Linked DNA regions of Homo sapiens: region 2 is linked to region 1. Evidence: promoter capture Hi-C in human tissues and cell types (Jung and others, 2019). All regions are on one chromosome and are shown on one strand. Each heading gives the region's core, a stretch centred on a gene start or on the middle of the fragment in contact. The rest is flanking DNA. Distances are from core to core; before and after follow the strand shown.

Evidence for each region. The method cuts DNA at HindIII sites, captures the fragments that hold promoters and counts their contacts. A contact is called where the count stands out against the background at its distance.
Region 2: a fragment that was not itself captured here is called in contact with the fragment with the promoter of ROGDI in region 1 in 1 of the 25 tissues and cell types used here (hippocampus).

The regions. Positions count from the first base shown.
Region 1 is chr16:4,799,881-4,803,882 of GRCh38, reverse strand. It overlaps ROGDI (rogdi atypical leucine zipper), which reads left to right and starts at 1,250. Exons shown (of 11, transcript NM_024589.3): 1 at 1,250-1,356; 2 at 1,430-1,501; 3 at 2,298-2,380; 4 at 2,562-2,616; 5 at 3,305-3,385. The coding sequence starts at 1,312. GLYR1 (glyoxylate reductase 1 homolog) reads left to right here. Exons shown (of 16, transcript NM_032569.4): 16 at 1-680. RefSeq lists silencers at 743-954, 847-1,636, 1,677-1,736 and an enhancer at 1,242-1,742. The HindIII fragment of the contact is 9,245 bases long and covers 1-4,002 here.
Region 2 is chr16:5,021,555-5,028,083 of GRCh38, reverse strand. NAGPA (N-acetylglucosamine-1-phosphodiester alpha-N-acetylglucosaminidase) reads left to right here. Exons shown (of 10, transcript NM_016256.4): 6 at 1-104; 7 at 191-238; 8 at 705-806; 9 at 886-949; 10 at 2,399-3,240. The coding sequence ends at 2,606. Among named protein-coding and RNA genes, the nearest start is that of NAGPA-AS1, 8.9 kb to the left of the region's middle. RefSeq lists a silencer at 2,382-2,676. The HindIII fragment of the contact is 7,059 bases long and covers 1-6,275 here.

The DNA.
Region 1 (4,002 bases), core at 1-2,500:
TTTTTTATCCCTCTGCATGGGTTGGATTTTCCAAAATCATAATTTGCAGAAGGAAGGCCAGCATTTACGATGCAATATGTAATTATATATAGGGTGGCCACACTAGGGCGGGGTCCTTCCCCCCTCACAGCTTTGGCCCCTTTCAGAGATTAGAAACTGGGTTAGAGGATTGCAGAAGACGAGTGGGGGGAGGGCAGGGAAGATGCCTGTCGGGTTTTTAGCACAGTTCATTTCACTGGGATTTTGAAGCATTTCTGTCTGAACACAAAGCCTGTTCTAGTCCTGGCGGAACACACTGGGGGTGGGGGCGGGGGAAGATGCGGTAATGAAACCGGTTAGTCAATTTTGTCTTAATATTGTTGACAATTCTGTAAAGTTCCTTTTTATGAATATTTCTGTTTAAGCTATTTCACCTTTCTTTTGAAATCCTTCCCTTTTAAGGAGAAAATGTGACACTTGTGAAAAAGCTTGTAAGAAAGCCCCTCCCTTTTTTCTTTAAACCTTTAAATGACAAATCTAGGTAATTAAGGTTGTGAATTTTTATTTTTGCTTTGTTTTTAATGAACATTTGTCTTTCAGAATAGGATTGTGTGATAATGTTTAAATGGCAAAAACAAAACATGATTTTGTGCAATTAACAAAGCTACTGCAAGAAAAATAAAACACTTCTTGGTAACACAGCTGTGCCGCAGGAGTCCTGCTTCCCTCGTCCTCGGCGAGATGGGTGGGAGGAGAAGGCAGCGGCGGGGCCGGGGTGGGTTTTCGGGACCTCCGCGTCCGGGGTGAGACGGACTTGGGAGTGGCGGCGAGGTCCGCGGCAGGGTTGGAACCACGACCAATGGAGCCAAGCGGGCCAATAGGGAGGAGGAGCGGGGACAGACTGTCCTGCCGGCCAATGAGTGAGCGCGAGTGGAGCAGAGCGCCCTATCATATCCTGGGGGCGCCCCGGGAGCTCCGCCCCCAAGCGGGCGCCCCAGGCTGGTGCCGGCCGCGTCCCTGGCCAGCCGGAGCAAGCCTGACTCGTGCAGCCGCCGGCCGCGTCCCTGGCCAGGCGGAGCGAGCCTCACTCCCGCAGCCGCCAGTCTGGTTCCAGGGCTCCCGCAGGTTTCGGGGGCCGAGGCGGACCGACAGGCGCCAGCCAATCGCGAGCACGGAGCCGGCCTGGGGGCGGGGTGGTACCCGCTCCGCCAATCGGGTGGGGGCGGAGCCAGACGCCGGGGGCGGACGGGAGGACCGGAGGACCGAGGACAGAAAGATTGGTGGACAGGAGCAGCGGCCGGTGGGGAGGGCGCTCGGCGGCGGCCTGCGGCCATGGCCACCGTGATGGCAGCGACGGCGGCGGAGCGGGCGGTGCTGGTAAGGCGCGCGGGCCAGCGGGCGGGCCGGCGGGGCGGCGGGGCCGGGCGCGACCGCCGGGTCTGTCCCGCAGGAGGAGGAGTTCCGCTGGCTGCTGCACGACGAGGTGCACGCTGTGTTGAAGCAGCTGCAGGACATCCTCAAGGTAACGACCCGCGCCCTGCCCCGCCGGGCGTGGCGGCCCTCCCTCCTCATTTCCCTGGCTCCACCTGGGGCCGCGCGGCTGCGTCCTGAGCGCCTACAGTGTGCGGCTGCCGCGGCTTTCAGGCAGGGCCCCGCCTCCGCGAACTCGAGCCGACCTCATTATATAAGTACCTGTGTGCGGGCAGGGGCGGGTCCCGACGAGGGTGCTAGCAAGGGCCTGAGTCCCGCCCGGCCTCGGGTCGGGGAAGGCCGCCTTGGGAGCAGCGGCATCCAATCTGGGAGCCGAAGAATTCTGCCTCTGCCTGGCAGTGTGACTTCAGCCAAGTCACTGAACCTCCCTGGGCCTCCCTTTTCTCATTGGCAAAAGGGAGATAACAGTACCCGCTTCGCGAGGCTGGGGTGTAGATAAATGAGCCAGGCAGCTCACAGAAGTAACCGGCGTAGTGCTTGCTGTGGCCCAGGACCGCGGGTTACCATAACTACTGCCTTGTTCCCTGACTCTGCCCCTTGCCCCTTTCCCCCTCAACCAAGCTGGGAGGCTGCCCCTGTCTGTTTTGTATTCCCCGAGGCGGGCACACAGGAGGTGTTCAGGGAATGTGGTATAAGCAGAGATCGGGCTCACGGTTAGGTGCCCTGGGGGCTTGGGCAGGGTCTTCCCACCCCAGCTGAACCCAGGTGAGGCCAGGCCACGTTGTTCCTTCCCCCCGCTGACTTGGAGGGAGGGGGGCTTCTGGAAGGAGCACTGGGCCGGGCCTGAGTGGGCGCTACCAGCTCCCCTCCTTCCCTCTGTTCCACAGGAGGCCTCTCTGCGCTTCACTCTGCCGGGCTCCGGCACTGAGGGGCCCGCCAAGCAAGAGAACTTCATCCTAGGCAGCTGTGGGTGAGCCTGGGCTAGGCGGAAACCGGGGAAATGGGTACCTTGGGGGGTAGGAGGCATGGCCATAGCCCTGTCCTGCAGACCAGCTGGTTGTGCGATGGGACAGGAGGGGCAGCCCGCCGGGAGGGAGGGCTGGGTGGTGGGGGGGTGACCACAGGCACCGCTCTGACGCCACATGTTACAGCACAGACCAGGTGAAGGGTGTGCTGACTCTGCAGGGGGATGCCCTCAGCCAGGCGGTGAGTCCCCCGGCCCTGTCCCCTCCCATCCTGCCAATGGGGAAGAGCATGGGAGCTCCCACTTTCTCTCTGTACAAGCCCTGCGACTCTGGGCGGGACCCTTGATCTCTCTGGCCTCAGTTTTCTCCTTTGGAAAATGACAGCAACCCTCACACCTTCTCCCGGGATCGGTGTGCAGATTCAGTAAGAGGTGCAGGAGAGGGGTTCTTTGCACACGGCCTGGCCTGGCGTCCGGACCAGTGAAACATGGGCATTGGTGGATTAGGCTGGCCACACATCACAGTTGAATCAGCCAATGCCTGAACTCCAGTCTGCACCCGACTCTGTGCCAGGCACCAAGGCGTGGGGGGAGGCCCCCCTCCTGGGCTCCATCTGTTGCCCTTTGTAGACACTAGATGCACCCCGTTCGCACAGAGCCTCACAGAGGCTGCCTTTCCTCTTCCCCTTCCCCTTTCTTCACCTCTTTCCATTTCACTTCTTTGTGGCTCTTCTTGGGCCTGGTTTCCTGTTTCCTGACCTCCCTGTTCAACCCCCAAACGGCCAAGGCATTGGGAGACCCTCTGCCCTATACAGCGGCCAAGGCCTGAACCACCACACACCCCATTTCTGCCCTGGGCTTAAGGGCTCAGAGTGGCTGTGGCAGGAGGTGCCCCCCCACTGCCCAGCTCACCCCACTCTTGCCTGTCAGGATGTGAACCTGAAGATGCCCCGGAACAACCAGCTGCTGCACTTCGCCTTCCGGGAGGACAAGCAGTGGAAGCTGCAGCAGGTGACCCCGCCCCTCCTGGCTAGTGCTCAGCCACAAGGACAGGCGGCAGCAGGCCTGCCGCGGGGCCTCCCTGGAGAGGGACTAGCCCTGGGGATCTGTGGCCACAGCAAGCCTGGGAGGGTGTTTCCTAACAGCAAAGCTGGGGGCAGGCGTTTCCTGAAGCCCTGGAGGCTGCGCCATGTGGGGAGGTAGAGAACCTGGCCTGAGAGCCCCGAGGGCCACATCGGGACTGTGGAGTCCCCACAGCAGCTGGCTGGATGAGATGGTTCAGAAGCCCTCTGAAAAGTCACTCCCTTGCCCAGAGCCTCCAGGGACTTGCCATGGCTCTGGGGATGAGGCCCATGCTCCCTGGCAGCTCCTGTACCAATGGGCCCCAGCCTCCTCCCCTGCCCCCTCCACCCCGACTGTCTCCATCTCAGCACCCTTGCCCCTGCCTTGTCGCCCTGTTTGCTTCCCTCCGCAACTCGCACAGACTCTTGTCTTGGGCATTACTGTGTGTCCATCCCTTAGAAAGGAGGGGGCAGTCAGCTTGGGCAGAGACCAGGCCTGCCCCAGGTGATGCCAGATGCCCATCACCTGGCGTGGACCTGGCCCTCTGGGGCACAGGGATGACAGTG
Region 2 (6,529 bases), core at 1,497-3,996, 220 kb before region 1:
GGACGGGCACTGCCAATGCACCGGGCACTTCTGGCGGGGTCCCGGCTGTGATGAGCTGGACTGTGGCCCCTCTAACTGCAGCCAGCACGGACTGTGCACGGAGAGTGAGTGGGGGTTCTGGGGAGGGGGCTCTGCCCAGCCCTGCCTTGCCCTAGGCCCTCACCTGGCCTCCCCGGTCTTGTCTCGGCAGCCGGCTGCCGCTGTGATGCCGGATGGACCGGGTCCAACTGCAGTGAAGGTAGGAGCTGCCACGCCACTAGCGGATGGGGAGACGGTGGCCCCCGGCAGCCCCCACTGCTCCTCTGCTGCTTCTGTCTCCACCTTCTGGTCTGGGAAATGCTTGCCTCTTGTCTTCTGCCCCGGCCTCACCTGCACATCACTGTGTGACTCCCCTGTGGCTGCTGCGGCCCGTTCCACAAAGGGCTCGGCTAAAACAAGGGTCCCCGGGCTCTGGCTCCAGGGCCCACCTCAAATCCAGCACGGTCTTATCTTGAGATCCTAACTGCAGTGCCTCTGTAGAGATTCTGCTTCCAAATAAGGTCACGTTCAGGGGCTAGTCCAGGGAGGGCAGGGGGTGCTTCACCTTTAGCCCGGCTCTGTACACATGGGCAGGGGCAGGTATCCTGTCCTGTCGAGAAAGGCTCTGACACTGGAGGCCCCAACCTTTCTCCTCCCTCCTCCCTCCTCCCATCTCCTTTCCATAGAGTGTCCCCTTGGCTGGCATGGGCCGGGCTGCCAGAGGCCTTGTAAGTGTGAGCACCATTGTCCCTGTGACCCCAAGACTGGCAACTGCAGCGTCTCCAGAGGTACCTATCCCTCCAAGGGGAGGGGTATGGGCAGACGCTCCTGCTCCGGCCCCTTCAGCCTGTCTCTGGTATGTTACAGTAAAGCAGTGTCTCCAGCCACCTGAAGCCACCCTGAGGGCGGGAGAACTCTCCTTTTTCACCAGGTAGGTGCTTCTGTGGGAGCTGGGGCCAGGGCGGGAGGAATCCCCCTTCTCTCCCGCACCCTTCCCCTGTGAGGTCCATCTCTGCCCTTGTCCCCTGCCAGCTCCCTGCCTTAGAGGAAGCGGGACCAGCTCTCCCCACTGTCTGCTTTGGGGACCCTGGAGCAGAGCCCAGGGCCTTCGAGTGCCCAGCCTCTGTTGTCAGCATCCCCCACTGGAGCTCAGAATGCAAACTGGGCTAGATGAGATCCCAGGGTGGGGGCAGGAGGTTTCCTCATTCTGTCACCCAGGCAGAAGTGCTGTAGTACAGTCAGCTCACTGCGATCCTCCCGCCTCAGCCTCCCAAGTAGCTAGGACGACAGGCACGTGCCCCCATGCCCGGCTAATTTTATTTCTTACTGTTTTTTAGAGATAGGATCTCACTATTTTGCACAGACGAGGTGCACAGTCCTGGGCTCAAGTGATCCTCCCACCTTGGCCTCCCAGCCCCCATGCCCAGCATCCAGCTGTGTTTTATTTGGCTTACATAATTTTTAAAAAGTTAAAATATATCAGCAGCATCTAAAAATCAGTAACATTCACATTTTTTTAAACTTTTTTTTTTGAGACGGGGTCTCACTCTGTTGCCTAGGCTGGAGTGCAGTGGTGCGATCTCAGCTCACCACAACCTCCGCCTCCTGGGTTCAGGCAATTCTCCTGCCTCAGTCTCCTGAGTAGCTGGGATTACAGGTGCCCGGCTAATTTTCATATTTTTAGTAGAGACAGGATTTCGCCATGTTGGCCAGGCTGGTCTTGAACTCCTGACCTCAAGTGATACGCCCGCCTAAGCCTCACAAAGTGCTGGGATTGCAGGCATGAGCACCACGCCCAGCCTTAAAAACCTTTTTAATGGCTTCTCTTAAAATATCAGGCCAGGCGTGGTGGCTCACGCCTGTAATCCTAGCACTTTGGGAGGCCGAGGCAGGTGGATCACTTGAGGTCAGGAGTTCAAGACCAGCCTGGCCAACATGGTGAAACCTGGTCTCTACTGAAAATACGAAAATTAGCCAGGCGTGGTGATTCGAGCCTGTAGTCCCAGCTACTCGGGAGTCCAAGGCAGGGGAATCGTTTGAAGCCAGGAGGCGGAGATTGCAGTGAGCTGAGATCATGCCACTGCACTCCAGCCTGGATGACAGGGCGAGACTCTGTCTCAAAAAAAAAAAAAAAAAATCAGGAGATGGGGCAGCACGGACCTGCATTGTACGTCATGACTGCCTCTGCTGTTCCCTGCACATGTCTTAAATGTTGCCCCATCCCCACCTAGTCCATTTTGCTCATAACATTCCCTGTGTGGTCCCTGGAGGCACCTGATTTAGTGCTATCTATGCCGGGTAGAGGGAAGCCCCTCCAGTGCTACCCAAGCCCTGAGCCCACCCAGCAGTCCCCCACTTGGGGCTTCTCTCCTGTCTGCAGGACCGCCTGGCTAGCCCTCACCCTGGCGCTGGCCTTCCTCCTGCTGATCAGCACTGCAGCAAACCTGTCCTTGCTCCTGTCCAGAGCAGAGAGGAACCGGCGCCTGCATGGGGACTATGCATACCACCCGCTGCAGGAGATGAACGGGGAGCCTCTGGCCGCAGAGAAGGAGCAGCCAGGGGGCGCCCACAACCCCTTCAAGGACTGAAGCCTCAAGCTGCCCGGGGTGGCACGTCGCGAAAGCTTGTTTCCCCACGGTCTGGCTTCTGCAGGGGAAATTTCAAGGCCACTGGCGTGGACCATCTGGGTGTCCTCAGCCCCTGTGGGGCAGCCAAGTTCCTGATAGCACTTGTGCCTCAGCCCCTCACCTGGCCACCTGCCAGGGCACCTGCAACCCTAGCAATACCATGCTCGCTGGAGAGGCTCAGCTGCCTGCTTCTGGCCTGCCTGTGTCTGCTGCCGAGAAGCCCGTGCCCCCGGGAGGGCTGCCGCACTGCCAAAGAGTCTCCCTCCTCCTGGGGAAGGGGCTGCCAACGAACCAGACTCAGTGACCACGTCATGACAGAACAGCACATCCTGGCCAGCACCCCTGGCTGGAGTGGGTTAAAGGGACGAGTCTGCCTTCCTGGCTGTGACACGGGACCCCTTTTCTACAGACCTCATCACTGGATTTGCCAACTAGAATTCGATTTCCTGTCATAGGAAGCTCCTTGGAAGAAGGGATGGGGGGATGAGATCATGTTTACAGACCTGTTTTGTCATCCTGCTGCCAAGAAGTTTTTTAATCACTTGAATAAATTGATATAATAAAAGGAGCCACCAGGTGGTGTGTGGATTCTGAATCATGGACTTAGGTCACTGCTAGGGCTTAGCAGGTGTGGCTTATCCTGAAACAGAAGTCACAACGGCATCCTGGAGCCAAGTCCTGTTCCCTGCTTGTTTAATCCAGTGCTTATCAAACTTTAATATGCCACAGGTCACGAGGAGATCTTGTTAAAATGCAGATTTGGGCCTGGGGTGAGGCCAGCAATTCTGCGTTTCCAACAAGCTCTCTGACGATGCTGATGCTTCAGGTCCCCAGACCACACTTCTTGTCTTTCTTAGAAACAGGGTCTCGCTCTGTTGCCCTGGCTGGAGTGCAATGGCACGATCTCGGCTCACTGCAATTTTGACCTCCTGGGCTCAAGTGATTCTCCCACCTCAGTCTCTCAAGTAGCTGGGACTATAGGCACATGCCACCATGCCCAGCTAATTTTTAAAATTTTTTTTGCAGAGAAGGGGTGTCACTGAGTTGCCCAGGCTGGTCTCAAGCTCCTGGCCTCAAGTCAACCTCCTGCCATGGCCTCCCAAAGTGCTGAGATTACAGGTTCGAGCCACTGCGCCTGGCCCCTGACCATAATTTGAATGACCAGGGCTTAGTTTTTCCTCACAGTATTTTTATAGAATTTAAATTAGTTACCCATGTTTAAAAGTCAAGAGATTTTAAAATAAATAAGGGCGGGGGTGCAGTGGCTCACGCCTGTAATCCCAGCACTTTGGGAGGCTGAGGTGGGCGGATCACCTGAGGTCAGGAGTTCGAGACTAGCCTGGCCAACATGGCAAAACCCCGTCTCTACTAAAAATACAAAACAGGCATGGTGGTGGGAGCCTGTAATCCAGTTACTCAGGAGGCTGAGGCAGGAGAATCGCTTGAACCCGGAAGGTGGAGGTTGCAGTGAACTGAGATCGCACCGCTGCACTCCAGCCTGGGCAACAGAGCAAGACTCCATCTCAAAAAGTCCAGAGATTGACAAAAATTCCAGCTTGCTGGTTTCTCTTTAAAGATCTGGCAGCCCTGGTGGGCGCCTGCACAAGTCACCAGGCCAGCTCAGATTCAGGGAGAAGGGAAACGGGCTCTGCCTCTTAAAAAGGAGCTGCAAAGTCAGGCGCCTTAGAGTCATTCAGGTGTATTCCTAAGAGCAGTTCCCAAGCCTGGCTGCAGATCCTGGAATCTACAGGGATCACTCTCAGTCTGACGCCACGGCCACGATGATGGCCATGATGACCATCCTGAAATGACCCTTGGCCTGAGAACCATGACCTCTGAGGGGACATCTCTGTTGTGCTGGCGGCTAAGTTGGAAAAGTGACAGTCCTGTGCACTGGAATCCAGGCCCAGAGGCAGCAGTACCTGAAGAGGGCCTGTCACAGCAAAGTTAGAGGGGTCCCAGGTCAGGTGACTCAAACATGCCAAGCGGTGTGAGTCCTGTGGCCCCTGGAATTTTTTTTTTTTTTTTTTTTGAGACAGTCTCATTTTGTTCCCCAGGCTGGAGTGCAATGGTGCAACCTCGGCTCACTGCAACCTCTGCCTCCCGGGTTCAAGCGTTTCTCATGCCTCAACCTCCCAAGTAGCTGGGATTTCAGGCATGCACCACCATGCCTGGCTAATTTTTGTATTTTTAGTAGAGGCGGGGTTTCACTATGTTGGCCAGGCTGGTCTCGAACCCTTGGCCTAAAGTGATCCACCCGCCTGGGCCTCCCAAAGTGCTGGGATTACAGGTATGAGCTGCCGCACCCAGCCTGTAATTTCTTTTTAATTTGTCATTGTGTTATTGATTTTCTTTGCCTGCCCGACATCCAGTCTCTCTTCTAGCAACAGCCCTGTCTTAGGCTAGGATTCCCCAGATGCAGAAACTAAGACAAGGAGGTGAGAGCAAGTACTTTATTGGGGAGGCGGCCCCAGGAAGCACTGGTAGAGGACAGGGAGGGAAGGCAGCCTGTGCAGAGTGCAGGAGTGAGCAAGTCTATACTGTAGGCAACAGGGGCTCAATCCTGCTGGGGGCCTCTGGGACAGTTGGTAGAACAGGTCTTGGTTGCACCACACAAGGGCGAGGAAGCTGGGGTATTTATCAGCCAACACCCATTCATCATTGGTTGAGGGCCGCTCCTGGGGGTTGACTCCCTGGCAGTGCCAGTCTGCCCTACCCAGAGACCGAATGTGCCCTGGCAACCACAGGGAGCTGTGGGAAAGTTGCAACATCTTGTGACCTGAAGCCTTCCATGGTAATGAGAGTGCCCGGGGAGGTGGCCACTTCTGCCTCCTGCTCCACGTCCTATCTAAGGTCTGCCGTCCAAAATCTAAATGCCTGAGCCCCAAAATGTGCCTCTCCTGTAACAGTACAAGTGTCACACGTTTTGGGTTGCCGGAGACCCCAAAACCCAGGAGCCCTGGCTGTGAGCCTCTAGCGTGTTGCTATCAGGGTAGTACCTCTCCCCCATTCTCCATCCAGGTGGTTTGGGTGGCACTGTCTTCTCACCCCAAGTTGCAGGTGGGCCTGAGAGATTGGTCCAGAGTTAGGCACCTGCCCCGGGTCAGCCCGTCAGAGCCCATCGTGGAACTTCTGCTGCAGCTGGAAGAAGAAACTCTCTCTGCTGGGACTGTCTAACTTCCAAGGTTAGACACAAGGAGGGCCACAAGGTGGGCCAAGGTGGGCCACAAGGAGGAGGAACGGAAACCAACTCTTCTCCAGTGTGGAGAAGACCTGATCAGAACCAAGAGATGGAGCGGGTGAGCCAGTGTGGAAAACGACTAGACTGAGGGTGTTGGGGTGGGGGTGGGGGGACATGATTTGAATGCCTGGATCCAGCTATACCTGAAGCCAGCCAGATCATTCTTGGACTTCCGAATTACATGAACCCATAAATTCCCATTTTTTGCTTGAGGCAATTTGTATTGGGTTTTGGGGTCTCCGGCAACCCAAACGTGTGACACTTGTATTGTTACAGGAGAGGCACATTTTGGGACTCAGGCATTTAGATTTTGGACGGCAGACCTTAGATAGGACATGGAGCAGGAGGCAGAAGTGTCTGAGATTCCAGTACCAACCTATGGTGCTGGTGGGGACACAAATATACAAGAGCTAAAGTCATCAAACTGCAGGCAAGCCGGCTGGGGATTCATGTGCTCCGATCCCAGCAGCATAAGGGTCCCCTCCCCCACCCACAGTAGTGACTCAAGACCCCCAGGCACAGGCACGGTGGTCTTGGACTGCACACTGAAGTCTCTGCAGCTCAACTGGGAACCCTGAGAGTTCCACATGCTGGGCCATCGCCATGGTGACACGTCTCAGCTTCTGGGGTGCTCTGCACAGAA